Linked DNA regions of Homo sapiens: regions 2, 3 and 4 are each linked to region 1. The links are contacts of gene promoters, found by promoter capture Hi-C in human tissues and cell types (Jung and others, 2019). All regions are on one chromosome and are shown on one strand. Each heading gives the region's core, a stretch centred on a gene start or on the middle of the fragment in contact. The rest is flanking DNA. Distances are from core to core; before and after follow the strand shown. Region 1 holds the start of CCL22 (C-C motif chemokine ligand 22). Region 2 overlaps RSPRY1 (ring finger and SPRY domain containing 1). Region 3 holds the start of POLR2C (RNA polymerase II subunit C). Region 4 overlaps CIAPIN1 (cytokine induced apoptosis inhibitor 1).

Evidence for each region. The method cuts DNA at HindIII sites, captures the fragments that hold promoters and counts their contacts. A contact is called where the count stands out against the background at its distance.
Region 2: a fragment that was not itself captured here is called in contact with the fragment with the promoter of CCL22 in region 1 in 2 of the 25 tissues and cell types used here (IMR-90 fibroblasts and aorta).
Region 3: a contact is called between the fragment with the promoter of POLR2C here and the fragment with the promoter of CCL22 in region 1, in 2 of the 25 tissues and cell types used here (lymphoblastoid cells and mesenchymal stem cells).
Region 4: a contact is called between a fragment that was not itself captured here and the fragment with the promoter of CCL22 in region 1, in 4 of the 25 tissues and cell types used here (IMR-90 fibroblasts, lymphoblastoid cells, neural progenitor cells and 1 more).

The regions. Positions count from the first base shown.
Region 1 is chr16:57,357,487-57,360,083 of GRCh38, reverse strand. It overlaps CCL22 (C-C motif chemokine ligand 22), which reads right to left and starts at 1,301. Exons shown (of 3, transcript NM_002990.5): 1 at 1,195-1,301. The coding sequence starts at 1,267. The HindIII fragment of the contact is 38,120 bases long and covers 1-2,597 here.
Region 2 is chr16:57,230,978-57,233,574 of GRCh38, reverse strand. RSPRY1 (ring finger and SPRY domain containing 1) reads right to left here. Exons shown (of 15, transcript NM_133368.3): 13 at 2,256-2,408. Among named protein-coding and RNA genes, the nearest start is that of ARL2BP, 13 kb to the left of the region's middle. The HindIII fragment of the contact is 8,140 bases long and covers 1-2,597 here.
Region 3 is chr16:57,461,403-57,463,999 of GRCh38, reverse strand. POLR2C (RNA polymerase II subunit C) reads right to left here and starts at 1,321. Exons shown (of 9, transcript NM_032940.3): 1 at 1,190-1,321; 2 at 922-971. The coding sequence starts at 1,275. RefSeq lists an enhancer at 1,169-1,463. The HindIII fragment of the contact is 18,274 bases long and covers 1-2,597 here.
Region 4 is chr16:57,432,445-57,435,041 of GRCh38, reverse strand. It overlaps CIAPIN1 (cytokine induced apoptosis inhibitor 1), which reads left to right. Exons shown (of 9, transcript NM_020313.4): 5 at 830-998; 6 at 2,482-2,555. Among named protein-coding and RNA genes, the nearest start is that of CIAPIN1, 14 kb to the left of the region's middle. The HindIII fragment of the contact is 7,381 bases long and covers 1-2,597 here.

The DNA.
Region 1 (2,597 bases), core at 52-2,551:
CCCAGCAGCTGGGAGCAATTCTTGTTTATAGCTGCCTGACCCCACTCCAGTGCTCACTCCTCCACCCAACACAGCAAAAGTATAGAGTGGGGTGGAGAAGAGGAGTCAGGAATCCATGCTGAGGACAGGTTCTGGACAAAAATGGATAGTGAGCCCAGAGCAGTGGCTCACGCCTGTAATCCTAACACTTAGGGAGGCCAAGATGGGAGTTTCACTTGAGGTCAGGAGTTCGAGACAAGACCGGTCAGCATGGTGAAACCCCATCTTTACTAAAAATACAAAAATTAGCCGGGCATGGTGGCAGGTGCCTGTAATCCCAGCTACTCAGGAGGCTGAGGCAGGAGAATCACTTTAACTCCAGAGGTGGAGGTTGCAGTGAGCTGAGATTGCGCCACTGCACTCCAGCCTGGGCAACAGAGACTCCATCTCAAAAAATAAATAAATAAAATGAAATAAAAAATAAATTTAGGCTAGACGCAGTGGCTCATGCCTGTAATCCCAGCACTTTGGGAGGCTGAGGTGGGAGGATCATCTGAGGTCAGGAGTTTGAGACCAGCCTGGCCAACATGGTGAAACCCTGTCTCCACTAAAAATACAAAAATTAGCCAGGTGTGGTGGTGCATGCCTGTAATCCCAGCTACTCAGGAGGCTGAGGCAGGAGAATCGCTTGAACCTGGGAGGTAGAGGTTGCAGTGGGCCAAGATTGCCCCACTGCACTCCATCCTGGGCAACAAGAGTGAAACTGTGTCTCAAAAAATAAAATAAAATAAAATAAAAAATAATAATAATAACATTTTAAAAAATGGATGGTGGGAGGGCAGCACCAGCTTTCCAAGGGAGAACCCCTTGCCCCAGCCCTGCCTTCCCCCACTCAGACCTGACCCTTAGAAGCTCCTCACCCACACCCCTAGGGCCCTATGCTTGAGTTTTCTGGGGCAGGAGATCCCGAGGCTATGCCCACCACAACCCCCAACCCAGGTGAGACAGATCCTAGACTCCAAGTCTTCAAGACTGCCCATTCAACAGACTTGTAAACTGAGGCCCAGAGAAGCACTGCAACTAGCCGAAGGCCGCAAGAGCCAACAGCAGACTGAGGTCTTCTGCTCTTGGTCCAGTGCTTGTCCAAGACATGAGGAAGACACCCCACCGTCTGCCCTGGCCTCTGTAGGGGGTCTTCCTGCTCCCCAGCCTCACCTGCCTCAGTTGCTTGAAGCGCCACAGCAAGGAGGACGAGGACAACCAGGAGTGCAGTCTGTAGGCGATCCATGCTCTGTCCTGTATGTCTCAGCCCAGGTGTCTGCAAAGGGACATAGGAAGACCTGCTATTTAAGGTGCTGGCTCCACCCACAAGCCTCACTTACTTACCTCTTAGTCACCGGGGTGCCCAGAGTCACTTGACATTCACATCTCAAAAGAAGAACTACCTCCCACTTCCTCCAAAGTGGAGAAATTCTCTTTGGCGGGGAACCACTCAGAGGGGACCCCCCCTCAACTCTGTCCTCGCCTCTGGTTTCAGACAGACTTGTAAAATCCCCCTCTTAGAGGCTTGTGCTCCCCAGGGTCTCTGCACTGTGTGGCCTTGGCCATGTCTGGGTGTCTCTGGGACTTGGTTTCCCCATCTGGAAATGGGGGAGATGGTTTCACAGCTCTGTTGACTTCACTGGTTGTAAATCAAGTGAGAACGTGGACCAACCCTCACCTAGAATTGAGGCCTGTCTTGTACCCTTAATGACGGCATTACTGGTCTCTCTTCAATGGGAGAGGCCTATGGACCCATTGACCCATCTGGGGCTTCTCGTGAAGTCCACATTTGGGCCAGGTCGTGGATTTCTCAACGGTTTATGGAAAGCATCTACCCACACTTCTGTCCTGCCTGATCTTCCTTCCCAGTGGCTGCCGGGCTCTCCCTCCCCCACTCCTGTCTCAGTCCCTCACCATGTCCATGTCCCGTTGATTCTGCTTCCTAAATCTCTCTCAGATCTGCTCCTTCTCTCCAACCCCACTGTTCCTGCCCAGTCCAGGCCACCTCCACCTCAGGCTGGGATGCTGGCCTCCTCAATGCCATCCCCACCCTGCAGCAGCCAGCGTGAGTGGTCCAGAGCTACACACTCTCTCTCCTGCTTCAGAACCCTGCCGTGGCTCCCCATTCACCTAAAGGCAGGTCCCGGGCTCCTGTCTGTGGCCTTCAAGGCCCCGTTTCCGGACAGGCCTTTCCCCACTGGTCTCCTTCCCCTGAGGGATCACACCACACTCCTCACACTTCCTCAAAAGGGACTGCGGCCTGTCCCTGGCCTTTAATGTCACTTTCCACATCTCTACCACATAAACTCCTACTTATGCGTCAAAGCTGTTTGAAATGTCATGTCCTTGGTAAGCACACCCTCTCAGGACTTCAAAGCCTTCTAGGGGACCTGGAATGTGGCCCTGAGCAGACTGGGTCAGGTTTTCTCTTTCTCAAGCCCCTCCCTAGAAGTCAGACTCCAAGCTCTAGGAGGCTGGGGTCTCCCTTCATTTTTCTTGGCATTCCCAGGGCCCTCTGAGGATCAGGCACATGTTGGGTGCTCAGAACACATGGGCTGGGTGCAGTGATTCATGAC
Region 2 (2,597 bases), core at 43-2,542, 130 kb after region 1:
AACATGGCGAAACCCAGTCTCTACAAATAATACAAAAATTAGCTGGGTGTGTTGGCATGCCTGTAGTCCCAGCTACTCAGGAGGCTGAGGTGGGAGGATCGCTTGAGCCTGGGAGATGGAGGTTGCAATGACCTGAGATTGTGCCACCACACTCCTGGGCAACAGAGTGAGACCCTGTCTCAAAAAATAAAAAATAAAAATTAAAAAAACAGAGATGAGAGAAGACTGAGGGAGAAGCAGTGGCTGTGAGTGGATGACTTGTAGCTGAGAGTGGGTATGTGGTGCTTCACTGTACTATTATTTTTTTCTTCTGTATGTATTTGAAATTTTCCATAATAAAAAGGTTAAAGAAAAAAAGAATGAATGGAAGAATTACAGACAGAGAGTATATACAACACAGAACAATTTATAAAATCCCAGTTAGTAGTAACAGGGCCATGAGCTCCTACCCTGATGCCAGAAAGGAGTAATATTCCAATGAATATAAAGTATCACTGAATATACATTTTTGGAACACAGGATGAAAATATTAATGGCACAGAAAATGGTCTCAAGTAAGTTCATACTTAATGCCACAATTTATAATTAAGCACAACTGGAATGTTAAGGGCAGCAAGGTGCAAGAAGGAGGTTGGCACTAAGGTGGCCACTCAGTTAGGCTCCTGACAACTATATCTTCTTGTTACTATCAGAGAAAACAGTCTAGAGACAGCATAGGATTGACCTAGCTTGGAATTCAGCTGTTCTTATTCAAGACAAGACGAACTTTGGGTACCAAATTTATATACATGGTTACCAAGAGAGTATGTATAAGCTGCCCATAAAATGAGACTTTCTGATAGTTGATGCCCATTGCCATCTGAGTTTGGGAAGGTTTAATTCTGCAGGAGCAGTTAACTAAATGCTGAAGCATTTTAACTATGTCCAGTCCCCATGGGAACTTAGATGGATCAATTGTCCCTTTTAGGGTATATGTGAGAAGACTTATTTGTGGGCTTCATCCAAGGAAAAGGCAGGCTAGATGAAAAAGAACGGGGTATGATAGATAAGGGAGAGGTGTCCCCTCAGACTTTGGCCAAGAGGAATTTAAAGTTCAGAATCTCTGTCAGGCACCAAGGATGAGCCTGAATGAAAAGTTCTAGGAATTAACCTCAGAACCCTGAGCGGGAACATATGCAACCCTTATGTTCTTGGGCTATTACTGAGGCTCTGCTGCCAGTGTTACCATCTGCAGACAACACTACCATCATCGTCCCATTTTCTAGTTCATCTGGAAACTATTGAACCACTGAGACAGTGATTCCAAGGTGAAGCACAGCCCAGAGCACTGCTTGCAGATCTGCTTTTTGAGCCAAAACAAGAGCTAGGATTACGTTACAGATATCTTCAGGGGCATACCAGTCCGACATTAGCTATGTCATGGCCAGTATGCTGGCCTTGGCTGCTGAGAGAGACTCTCTTACTGATATAAGATATGTGGTATTAGTAACAGGAATACCCTTTAAACAGGCAGCTGCTCTGTTTAAAATGATAAACTTTAGCTCACATTGTGAAACAAGCTTCAACTTGAAGTAATTACCAGGAAGCAGCTGGAGTCTTTCCCCAGCCTAAGGAATAGACTACATTCATCTCACAAGGAAGTAAAGCAGGCATTCATCTGATAAATTAATGCCAATCACAGTTTTTGTCAAATAAGGGCTGTAAAATTTTATGCAAGATGGTATTCACTGATGGTTGTGGAACAGTGTTGTCATCTTTGCCACACAGTTGAAACCACATAAAAAGTCTGTTTCAATAAAGCCGAGTCTGCTAAAAGATGTACTAGATTTCCTAATATTTAGGATTTTGACACTGACATTCACGTGAAGTTAGTTTGCAGTTTGTGTGCATGTGTCATATTTTTCTGATTTTTATACCAATCTTATTTATCTCACAAAAAAAATTTGAAAGTGTTCCGTCTTTCTGGGTTTGGTAACATTTTAAATAACAATAAGGTTATCTGTTACCTAAAGATTTGGTAGAGATCCCCTGTGAAACCACCTGGGTCTGGTGCTTTCTAGGGACAGATATATACAATAATTGGTTTGTGTATATTTCTTCTGCGATCTTAGAAATTTATATTTCCTGAAAAGTCATCCATTTTACTCAGGTTTTCAAAATTTATTTGTTATATTCTTTTAACGTTGATTATAAATTGTTTAATTTCTCATAAGATTCATGTGAAAGTCTGGAGATAGCCTGGGCAGATTCCTTACCTTGGCAAAATGATTTTTTCTTCAGCTGTTAGGAAGGCGTAGTCATTAAAAGTGCTAAATTTCATAGATGGTGGGTATTTGAATGGTTTTGCTCCAAAATTGAACTCACATTGTTGATATGACATGAAACTAGCTGCAGCAAAAAATCCAGATCTACAAATAAAATGAGTACAGAGGCCAATAGAATTAATAAAAATCAAAATAGAGTTAATAGATAGAACAGTTTTCAGAAAGGCAGGGTGAGTCAATCCTACCCTGGCAGAAAGGAAGAGTGACAGACTGTGTTTATAACCCACACAGGTCTGTGACTAGAGAATATTCTGCCTTATCTTCCTGTATCAA
Region 3 (2,597 bases), core at 72-2,571, 100 kb before region 1:
CTCTGCAGCAACATGGACGTGGCTGGAAGCCACTATCTTCTTTTTTATTTTCTTTTGTTTGAGAAGGAGTCTCACTCTATTGCCCAGGCCAGAGTGCAGTGGCATGATCTCGGCTCACTGCAACCTCCACCTTCTGGGTTCAATCAATTCTGCCTCAGCCTCCCCAGTAGCTGGGATTACAGGTGGGAGCCACCACACCTGGCTAATTTTTGCATTTTTAGTAGAGGCGGGCTTTCCCCATGTTGGCCAGGCTGGTCTCAAACTCCTGGCCTCAGGTGTTCCTCAGTCTTGGCCTCCCAAAGTGCTGGAATTACAGGCGCGAGCGCGGCCTGGAAGCCATTATCCTAAGAGAATTAACACAGGAACAGAAAACCAAACACCGCATGGGAGCTAAAACTGGGTACGCACGGACATAAAGATGACAATAAACACACTGGTGACTACTAGAGCTGGAAGGGAGGCAGTGGGGCTAGGGGTGAAAAACTACCTATTGCGTACTATGCTCACTACCTGGGTGAAAGGATCATTTATACCCCAAATCTCAGCATCACGCACTATACCCAGGCAACAAACCTGCACCAATGTACCCCTTGACTCCAAAATAAAAGTTGAAAACATTTTAAAAACTTTTGTAACAATAGTAGTGAAAACAGTATTTGAACCCAAGTCTGCACACTGCTAAACCCATGCTTCTCAGCAATGCATACCCAGGACAAGGGTGGACCTAAGTGGCCCGTGGGCGCCAGGGAGGCGGCCACTGAGCCAAGGGCACAGGGTATGGTCAAGTCTCCAGCAATGCACTTTTCTCAGCACTACCACCCTCAGCCCGAACCAAGGACTGGAAGGAGCCCCAAAGAGTGTGTGGGTGGAGAGCGGGGCAGGAACCCGTGGGCGCGGGAACGAGGAAGGGGAGTCGCTTACCTATTATGGGAACCTCAGCGATGAAGACCCTCCGAATCGAATTGGCCACCCTGAAAGATCAAAAGCCAAGGGGCGTGAAGGCGCTGCAGCCTCGACAGGCTGGGCCCGCGCCGCAGGCTCCCAAAGCTAAAGCCCTGGTGCAGGGGGGCAGCTCTGGAAGGACATCGCCCCCACCCCACCCCACTACACCCCCGCCCCCTGCCCCGGGGCCCCGGCTTGGGCCTCCCGGCGCCCCAGAGCCGCCAGCCTCTTCCCTCGGTAGCCTTACGCCAGGTCGGTGTTCTCGATGATGAACTTGACATTCTCGTCAGTGAGCTCCGTGATCCGCACGGTAGGCTGGTTGGCGTACGGCATCTCGCCCAGGGGCCACCAGCCTCCGCGTCTGCTCCGCGGTGACTGCGCGGCGCCACCGCCAACACCGGAAGTCAGTCAGCGAGGCCTCCGCGGCTTCCGCAAAGACGACTCACAGCGCCGCCTGCTGCTCGGAGGCCAGAACTGCCGAGCGTCTTCTGCGGCCTCCTGCTTTAAAATGTACCAGATTCAGCTATCTCGGAGGGTAGTTTGGCAAAACACGCATACGTCCTTCACTTAACAGTAACACTTCTAAGAATTCATACTGCAGAAACACTTGCAGTTGTAAACAAAGATACGAGTGCAGGGACGTTCGTGGTAGTACTGTTTGTACTGTCCATTGATAAGAGACCTGGTGGAGTATACACACATGGAATACTATGAAGCACTTAAAAAGAACTTGTACATCTATAGAAAAACAAAAGTATATTTTAATATGAATGTATATTTTAGCAAAGTATACCTGAATTATAAGTAAATACCCTTTCCCTTGCAGTCTCAAGTATGGACCATGCACTTCTGAAAACTTCAGGAAAAGATACAATGTTCTTTAACCTAATGCTTCCTCTACAGTCTGTGTAGCTGTGGTGGGTGAGTGGGAACTCTTTGTCTCTGCATCCCCAGTGCCTGGCAGTGGGCACCATGTGGGGTGCATGCTCAACAAAGAACTACTGAAGTCCCCTAAACAGACTGGAGAGAGGTTTAAATGGGCCTCAAAAAAAGTGGCTGCTGCTCCAACAGAGAAAAGCTCTAAAATAGAACGTGGCAGGAAATACATTTAAGAGTTGGGAGAAGAGTAACCAGATAAAGAGGAGTTTGCCTTTGCAAAGAGTGACACCTCTTCCTGAAACAGAGGGTGGGCACTGATGGAACCCTGCTCCATAACCTGTGTCATCTTGGTAAATTAAGAATTATGGTTGTCTGCTGAGTGTAAGATGGATGCTATGAAGGAAAAAGGAGAATGCAATGAAAACTGGAACAGCTACTGCGAAAACTTCACAGGATGTCAAGAGATACAAGGAATTGAGAGGTGCAAAAAAGATCCAGTGGAAGACCCACAAGAGATCTGAAATTCAATTAGTTGCTGACTTTCCCCCATTAATATTCAGCTGACAGGCAGAAGAGAGCAAAGCAGAAAACAGAGCTAACCAGACGTGCAAAGGGAACCCAGCCAGTGTAGAGGCTGAGAAAATTACTGGGGCTAAAGAATGTACCACTAAAATCGTCAGACAAGAGCAGCCAAGGGAGCTGATGGTCTGTGGGAAGGCTTCTGTTACCCGTATTTTACTGATGGGAAGACTTGAGCCCAGAGACGCAGAGGTACT
Region 4 (2,597 bases), core at 29-2,528, 75 kb before region 1:
TTAGAGGGGACACATATCCAAACTATATCAGACTCCTCATAAAAATTCACTTTACACCAAAGCATACAGAATATAAAGTGACATCCCACTTCTTGCTCACACTTCCCTCCCCAGAGGAAGCCACCAATGCCTTTTTGTATGTCCGTTCAGACCTTTTCCTATGTATTTACAAGCATCTACATGCACATACTTTTTTAAAAATGTAAATAAGATCATAAGTATACATTGTTCAATCACCTTTTTTCCCACCCTTAGATATCATAGACACTTACCTACTTCAGTGTATTTCCCTTCATTCATATTAATGATGTAATAGTATTCCATACAATAGATGGACTGTGATTTATGTAACCAGTCTATAATTATTGGACATAGAGGTGGCACCCTGACCCTTTTTTTCTACCTTTACTCTCTGCTACTTTATCCCAAGGAACATAGAAAGGATTTTCCTCCCCCTTTTTCTTTTGGGATATAAATTTCTGCTGTCTTCATTGTGGGCATTCTTTCCTGTTACACAGTAGGACCACATCTGGTTCATTTTCATAATTGTATTACATCCCAAATAACTAGTATATGCCTCATCCCTAATGTTTTTTAAGTACTTTTACATTTTCCAAGGGGTAGGCTCCAAGTAAACATGCAGACAAAGGTTATACTCTAGGGTTCTGATCAGTGAGAAACTGAATGTGAGGCATAAAGTGTTATCTGTTACCATCCACTGTTACATCCTTAATGCACAGAAATGAGTCTTTGACTCCTGTGTAGGTAGACATAGTAAACCATTTTACAGAGGAGGGTGAACTAATCCTTTTGATGTCTTGAATTCTAGCTGCAGCGGGAGCCCCTAACCCCTGAGGAAGTACAGTCTGTTCGAGAACACCTTGGTCATGAAAGTGACAACCTGCTGTTTGTTCAGATCACAGGCAAAAAACCAAACTTTGAAGTGGGTTCTTCTAGGCAGCTTAAGCTTTCCATCACCAAGAAGTCTTCTCCTTCAGGTAAGGCTGGCCTAGGGACATTCTTCTGTTTGAATGGGCTTAGAGGGACATGTTAGAAATTGAGCCAGCAATAAATGAGATGGTGATATTTTTAGAGGATTAGTCCTTTGATTTCTGCCATTTCCACAAAGAAGAATACTTAATGTACTATTATCATGGGCATATTAGGATCCAAAACTGAAATAATACATAGGTATTATCTAGTTCAGCTCCTTCTTCTGCACCAGAAGATACCGAGGCCTCCTAATTTTACAGGACTGAGTCACACAGTTTAATTAATGAGGTCCTTCCAGGTCCCAGAATTAACGTTTCTCCTCAGAAGACCTCACAGTGTAGTGGTAATGGTGTATGAGAGTGCCCTGTTCCTGTTCTCATGTGCTTTTTTCCCCATGCCAGGAAAATCAGCTGTTCTTACTTTGAGGATGCTAAGACACTTATAAAACTATATTTCTTCTGACTAGAAAATTGTGTACAAGCACACGCGTGCACGCACGCGCACGCACACACACACACACACACAGCTCCATCCTCATCCTTCCTATCCCTATTTTTAAATGCCTGAATTGACCCAGCTGTGAGGTATGCAGACATTAACAGATATTTACTGGTACATTCCCACTTGTACGGTTTTGACTGTCTAACCTAAATCTTCAAGAAATCCTTTGGAATCTAACCTTTCGATTCATGGTTCCAGAATGGGTAGGAATAGCTTAGAACAGTTGGCCTTGTGGAAGGTATGAGCATCCAGCTGTGACAATGATCACTAGAGGGTACTCTTACCCCAAGGGCCTGCGAGGATTTGCCCACACTGCATCCGAGCCTCAGCTCTCTGCCTCTTCCTTGCATTCTCCTGACTAGACAGAGAACCAGGAAGTGTGAGGTTTGTCTGCCACTGATGGTGTTACCTTGCCACCAGCAGCTCTAGAGCCTATTTTCTTGTATGTAGCAGGTTTACATGAGGCTAAAGCTCTGCTATTTTTGAAGGTTTTGACACATTTCTCATTTAATCCTCAAAACACCTGCAGTAACATAGGAAGTACAATTTAACTTCATGTTATAGAATGGAAACTAAGGTATCGAGGAGGAAGCAATATGGAATGGAGGTTAAAAGCATCAGACAGGCTTTGCAGCCTGTGGAACCAGCCTAAGTGTCTAAACCTGTTTCCTCAGCGGTAAAAGTAGGATGACAGATAGTTACCTCATAAGGTTGTCAGCAGAATTAAGTTAGATAATGTATATAAGTGCTTAATATGGTGCCTGGTGCAAAGCAAGAGCTTAGCAAATGGTGACTTCTGTAACTATCAGCAAGTGGTTGGCCCAAGGTCAGACCTCTCAGAGGGGTAGAGCTGGACTGTGAACCCACATCTTCTGCCTCCCAGGCCAGTGTGTTCTCTTCTACACAGCAGGAAGCATTTATGTATGTTTGTAATTAATAGTTTCTGACTGTGTTTATGGAGTTTTTTCTTTTATTGCTTGGACTCAGTGAAACCTGCTGTGGACCCTGCTGCTGCCAAGCTGTGGACCCTCTCAGCCAACGATATGGAGGACGACAGCATGGTGAGCTGGCAGCATTGTCACTTGATTGCTTTCTTTCAGGCC